Linked DNA regions of Homo sapiens: region 1 is linked to region 2. Evidence: promoter capture Hi-C in human tissues and cell types (Jung and others, 2019). All regions are on one chromosome and are shown on one strand. Each heading gives the region's core, a stretch centred on a gene start or on the middle of the fragment in contact. The rest is flanking DNA. Distances are from core to core; before and after follow the strand shown.

Region 1 (3,327 bases), core at 79-2,578, 300 kb after region 2:
GTTGCAGTGACCCAAGATCGTGCCACTGCACTCTAGCCTGGGCAACAGAACAAAACTCTGTCTCAAAAAAAAAAAGAAAAAAGAAAAAAGAAAAGAAGAAATTATATCAACGGTTGGCAGCTTCCTCTGCAGAAAACAGTCACCAGTGCTATCTTCTGCCAACACCAGTAACAGCAGGCAGTAGGACTCCCTGAATAAACATTTTGAAGGCAAAGGTAAAGAAGGGTGGAATAAGCAAATAAGAAGTCACCATTCCTCCTGGAGTAAACCATTCCCTCCTCTGATTGCCTGAAGCTAACCATGAGACAGCAGGACTGGCTACATAATTTTCCAGCCTAGTACAAAATGAAAATGCAGGCCCTTGTTCAAAAGGCTAGGAAGAAAAAGTGCCATTAAAAGTGCTGAAATACAAAGCTTTTCCTTTCTTTCACCATCTATCTTGACCTGTCGGTCATGATGTGCTTTTAAAATTTGCTCTTTAATATAGTTCGCCTTTGGGCAGGGGATACTCCCAGGGCAAGTGTGAGTCCTCACAGGCTCCGGGGTCCCCCTCCCTCCAGCCACAGGCCAATGCTTGGTGCCGGGCCAACCTGCAGCAGATGGTTGGCCCTGAAGGGATTGAAACCTCAGTGCCAGGACAAGCTCAGTGCCTGGATTGGGGGTGGGGCAGAGGCGAGTTGCCCCCTAACAGTTGTGGTGCTGCCAGGCCCTGCTGCAAAGAGACCCTGGATGCCCAGCCTCAAGTCTCCCCGGGTGCAACTCCAGGTCCCTATTGAAAGCAGAGGATGACAGCAGAATGTTACCCCCCAACCCCCACCTCTGCCAGACACAACATAGTTGCCATCCCAGTTAAAGGCAGGCAGGGGCCACAGTGGGGAGAGCAGATGTGGAGAGGGGGTGGCTGGGCAGGGTCCCAGGAACCAGGCAATGGAGAACAGGCTGCCAAGGACCTATTCTCAGGGAGGTGGGGAGCTGGCAGCAGGCAGAACCGCATGTAAGCTAATGGCACGTGCTTCAATGTCCATTGGACTTCACTTGCAAAACACAAATTCAAAGATTAAATTATTAAGAATTCAAGACACAAATTCAAAGATTAAATTATTAAGAATATCAAGCAACTGCAGAGCATTAAACTCCAAGCATGCAGGGCTCTTCTGAACCTGGGGCCATGTGCAGCTGCACTGTTCCCATACCCATGAAATCCGTCCTCTGCAACCAAATTATTGAAATCAGTGAAGGTCCAGAAAATGTGTGTTCAGAAACGTATTTGTAGCATTTCTCATATGCTGCCTTGTACATAGTCTTATTTCTATACTACCCTCTTTCCTTCCTGCATGCCATCTGCATGGCCTAGCTCCTGTGCTTTCAGGCTAATCTCTAGCATGTTAGAGCTCCCCTCTCTAACCCTGATCTGTAAAATGGAAACAATAATGATGATCTCATAAAAGTGTTGTGAGGACCAAATGAAGTAAAGCTTAGAAGCCATTTAGCCCAGAGCCTGGCACATGTTTGTTTGTTTGTTTTTGTTTTTGAGATGGAGTCTCGCTTTGTCACCCAGGCTGGAGTGCAGTGGCGTGATCTCAACTCACTACAACCTCCGCCTCCCGAGTTCAAGCTATTCTCCTACCTCAGCCTCCTGAGTAGCTGGGACTACAGACGTGCCCCACCATGCCCAGCTAATTTTTCTATTTTTAGTAGAGATGGGGTTTCACCATGTTGGTCAGGCTGGTCTCAAACTCCTGACCTTGTGATCTGCCTGCCTCGGCCTCCCAAAGTGCTGGGATTATAGCGTAAGCCACCGCGCCCGTCCAAGGCATATGTTTTATACATGCAAACACACACACACACACACACACACACACACACACGTGCCCACATACACTGATAGGAATGCATCTCTGCTATGACACATAGGGACAGTACCAGAGTACACAGAAGACACTTAATAAGTCTATTTTTAGACAAAAGAACACAGGGTGAACATGTTTTAAGTGTCAATCTGGCTAATGTATATTTTAAATGAAATGTAGTGCAAATGGAAGTCTGTTAAGTTACAGAGAGACTAGAAAAGGATTTTTCAAAAATTAAAGTCATTATGGTAGAGTAATTCTGAAAGTAAGCTCAATTTAATTAAGCACATGGCAAAAATAAAGTCTTAAAAAGCTTGATAAATATAATTTTAGTATGAAAATTAGGTCTTCTAAGGAAAGATGAAGAAAATTGGAATTGGTTAGCATGAAGAAAAGAAAGAGAAAGAGAACTTCAAGATAGCGAAATTGCTCTCAATTAAAAGGGGGAGATTAAAGTGTACATTTTGTGGACTGGGGTGGTGGCTAACGCCTGTAATCCCAGCACTTTGGGAGGCCGAGGAGGATTACTTGAGCCCAGGAGTTTGAAACCAGCCTAGCCAACATGATGAAACCCTGTCTCTACTAACAACACAAAAATTAGCCCGGTGTGGTAGTGCACACCTGTAGTCCCAGCTACTAGGGAGGCTGAGACATGAGAATCGCTTGAACCCTGGAGGTGGAGGTCGCAGTGAGCCGAGACTGTGCCACTGCACTCCAGCCTAGGCGACACAGCAAGGCTCTGTCTTAAAAAAATAATAAACAGTAGATTCTGAAACAGCTTTCCTTGCATGTCTAAAATAAAAGTATTGCATGTAAAAAAATAAATAAAATAAAGTGTACATTTTGTTACAAAAGTAATTCATATTTATTATAGAAGCATTAAAAAATACACATAAGCAAAAAGAAGAAAATGTAAAATAGGCATAATCCCACCACTCTCATATAGCAAACAAGTTCATATAAACTGAATATCCTACTGTAAATATAGGTTTGATAACCTCAATAGTTCTGGGCATTTTCATTTTTAAAAATATTTGCCAGTTTTGCAGCTGAAATGGTATCTCATTGCTATTTTAACTTAAATTACTTCTTAGAATAATAAATTACTTATTTCCTCATATGTTTATTGTTTACACATATTTTTCTTTCATGAATTGCCCATGTCCTCTTAGACCTTTGTTTTTGTTTTGTTTTGTTTTGTTTTGTTTTTAAGACAGGGTCTTATTCTGTCACCCAGGCTGGAGTGCAGTGGTGCAATCGTAGCTCACTGCAGTCTTGATCTCCTGGGCTCGAGAGATCCTCCCACCTCAGCCTTCCGAGTAGCTGGGACTACAGTTATATGCCACCACGCCCAGCACTTTTTTAGTTTTATTTATGTATTTATTTATTTTTGCAGAGACAGGGTCTTGCTATGTTGCCCAGACTAGTGTCAAACTCCTCACCTCACACAATTTTCTTGCCTTGGCCTCCAAAAATG
Region 2 (3,311 bases), core at 517-3,016:
AAAAAAAAAAGGGCAGGGGTGAGGGAGGTGCTAATAAAACTAATGATAGTCACATGACCCAGTGCTAATAAAACTAATGATAGTCACATGACCCAGGATCAGATGCCCTCACTCCCAGCCCAGCAGGACCTACAGAGAGCCCACCAGCCAGGCCAGCTCAACTCTCCAGCCCCACCCTGAGGGCTTCCCAGAAGCCACTGGCAATATCGATCCCAGAGAGGAAACACCACCCTGAAGGCAAGACAGTGTTGGTCAGGCATGAGGCTGGGCAAGGCGTGTCAGCCACTTTCCTGTATTATTCATGTCGGCTCTGCCAGCAGAAATCTTCTAAATATTTAACATGCCACCTCAAGGTGCAGCGCAAACACCCCGCAGTCAGGAACAGCTGTGGAGAGGCCTTCACGGAATGACTTGGGGGCTGAGAGGCACAGACACTGGCTTTGGGAGGAAAGCCCTGAATGGTGGCGGGAGACAATGCTGAGATCCACTTCGGAAGGGAAAATCAGTAAAGAAGGGAAGGGAGATGGGTGGTGTTTCAAAACGTGGGGAGTGATGGTGCACAATCACTGGGGTCCAGAGCCCCGTGTTCTCAGACAAAGAAAAAGCCCGAGGTGCCTGCCACCCTCCTCCCCGCCTTAGACTCCCCACACCCATTTCAGCCCCTGCTAGCTACAGCAGGTGGCAAATCTGTTCTGACTCAGGCCAGGATGGTTAGGGAAGAACAGGGACTTGGAACAGCCACGTCTATCTCCAAAGGAGAATAAATCCACCGGGGAAGCTCTTCAAACGCCTACAGGTCCTGGGGCTTGAAGGAGAAAATCGGCCCCCACGCCCACCCCCAATGACTTCACACAGACCTCACCCTAGATGACTCTGCGCTCTCCTGCAAGGCCTGGGAGGTGTCATCGCCACCATGCGGGTGGCTGTCACTTGAAAATTTCCCGTGCATTCCTGGAGGTACCTGCCCCTGTCTCTCAATCCCCTGCAAAAGGAGTCGGAGCCGGGGGCTCCAGGCGTTTACTCCAAGATTCACATGCGTCTTCCCATGTCCCAGCTGCCTTTGCCGCTGTCGATGCAGACACCTAAAAAGGAGGATTTTTCCAACCCCACTGGGAGCCCCGCCTCTGCCTCTCCACCCGTTCCGCGCTGACCCTCCAGGCAGCGCCCCTGGTTCGTCTGCGCTGTCCTTTCCACCTGACAAAAGCTGGGGCGGCGGGGCGCGGCGCCGGGCGACCTCACATTTCTGCCAAAGGAGAGAGACGCGTGTCCGCGGTGCGCCCATTCGGGGCCTCTGCAAATCGACCGAGCTGAGGAACAAAGCGGCCAGCGCGCGGCGAGACGCAGCCCCCACGGAACCCCCGAGCGCCCCAGCCCTCGCCGTCCCGGCCCAGCCCCCCGCAAGCGGCCGCCGGCGCCGGCTGCCTCCTGGGCAGCAGCCGCGTCCTGCGCCGCCCGTCCGCCCGCAGGCGTCCTCGGCGGCTACTGTACCTGCTAAATTTAGCTGCGCCGGGTATTAATAGCCCGAGCCACTGGGACCGGGCGCTGTAGGGGCGCGCGCAGCCCGGGGCCGGGGGCGGGGAGGGAGGGGACGGAGGGGCGCGGGGGAGAAGGCCACTTACACCACCAGCCTGGAGATGATCCATGACACCATGGCGGGCAGGCGGGCGGGCGAGGCCCGGGCGGCGCGGCTCGGCTAGGCTGCGGGCGGCGCGGGCTGCTGCGGCGTTCCCGGAACGTCAGTCAGCTCACGGCAGCCGCCGCCAGACTGAGCGCGCCCGCCGCCCTGCCCGGCGTTCGCGCGTTGGCGCAGCCGCGGCACGTTCTGGCGGCGGCGGCGGCGGCCCCAGCCCCCCGGGGCTCGGCGGGCCCGCAGCGATTGGGCGGTGAGCTGGTCAGGGCACCCGCGGGCCCGCCCCGTCCCGCTCGCCCTGGCCCCCGGCTGAAGGCGGGCGCGTCCTGCGCGCTCCCCGGGGCACCGGCCCCGCCAAAGGAACCCTGCAGCGGCCCCGTTTGCAGGGCAGGGACCCGGGTGCTGCCCCACCCTCAGCGTTCCAGCGGAGAAACTGAAGTCCGAACCTGAACCTCGGGAATCTGTCTGCACCTGTCTAGGTGGGATGCTGTCATCCCTCATTCAGCTAGTGCGTTAGCCTCATAAAGGGTTTACCTGGATCCAGACCTAACCTCTTCAGTCTGTCCGTTGCTCAGCACTTTCTGCATAAGAAACAAACCTGGGCGCTTGCCTCCCTACTTAAAATTCTACAGAGTCCCTATATGATCGTGGTACCTGCCTAGAACCGTGTTGCCAAGACCATTCCCCCAAATAGTCCTCTAGCTCTTTTCCCTCCAGGCATCTTGGACTCAAATATTTGCTGTTTCTTCTTCCCTGTCAGTACACGCCACGCCTCATCGTCCTGCCTTGGTTTGATTCAGCTCCTTCTTCTAGGCTGGGCTGAAGGGCTACTTCTTCCTAGGGAAGGCCTTTCCTTGGGGGCTGCTCCGGGCCCTAGGAGGAGACTAGAAGCTGCGACTGCTTAGCACCAGTGCCCCGCTGAGCCACGTTGAACTCTTAGGCAAAAGGGAACTTGTGCACCCTATATAAACGTTTTTATGTATTTTTTAAAATACCGTATTAAATATTATGGTGGTTTTTTTTGTTGTTGTTGTTTTTTTATGAGACAGAGTCTCGCTCTGGGGTGCAGTGGCGCGATCTCGGCTCACTGCAAGCTCCGCCTCCCGGGTTCAAGCGATTCTTCTGCCTCAGCCTCATGAGTAGCTGAGATTACAGGAGTGCGCCACCACGCCCAGCTAATTTTTGTATTTTTAGTAGAGACGGGGTTTCACCATGTTGTCCAGGCTGGTCTCAAACTCCTGACCTCGTGATCCGCCCGCCTTGGCCTCCCAAAGTGCTGGGATTACAGGAGTGAGCCACCTATTATGTATTTTAGTTGCTGAATTTTATGGCACCTCTTAAATGTTGCACCCTCACTGAGCGCCTCACTCTGCTCACCCTAGTCCCGGCCGCAGATAGTACATTATTCTGTTACACTGGAAACGCTTTGTCCTCTACTCCTAGGCTCTGCTGCTGCTTTTCCCACCCTCCAATAGCTTAGGTTCTGCGTGGTGCTCCCAGCGCCCTGTCCTTTGCTGATGATGGTGTCATGTATAATTCAGTGTCAGATGTGAGAAGCGCAGGAGACAGCTTAGTACTCTCAGATGTAGCAGAATCTGTGCGTGCGTGTGCCTGATATAGTCAGAAGAAAGACTTCACGGACAACAAAGGGACTGCAGATGAGACATGCTCTCATATCTCA

The links. The method cuts DNA at HindIII sites, captures the fragments that hold promoters and counts their contacts. A contact is called where the count stands out against the background at its distance.
Region 1: a fragment that was not itself captured here is called in contact with the fragment with the promoter of REEP1 in region 2 in 2 of the 25 tissues and cell types used here (dorsolateral prefrontal cortex and spleen).

The regions. Positions count from the first base shown.
Region 1 is chr2:86,632,667-86,635,993 of GRCh38, forward strand. The region is part of intron 2 of RNF103-CHMP3 (RNF103-CHMP3 readthrough); the gene reads right to left. Among named protein-coding and RNA genes, the nearest start is that of RNF103, 10 kb to the left of the region's middle. RefSeq lists an enhancer at 146-669. The HindIII fragment of the contact is 3,155 bases long and covers 1-2,906 here.
Region 2 is chr2:86,335,860-86,339,170 of GRCh38, forward strand. It overlaps REEP1 (receptor accessory protein 1), which reads right to left and starts at 1,767. Exons shown (of 9, transcript NM_001371279.1): 1 at 1,620-1,767. The coding sequence starts at 1,651. The HindIII fragment of the contact is 14,274 bases long and covers 1-3,311 here.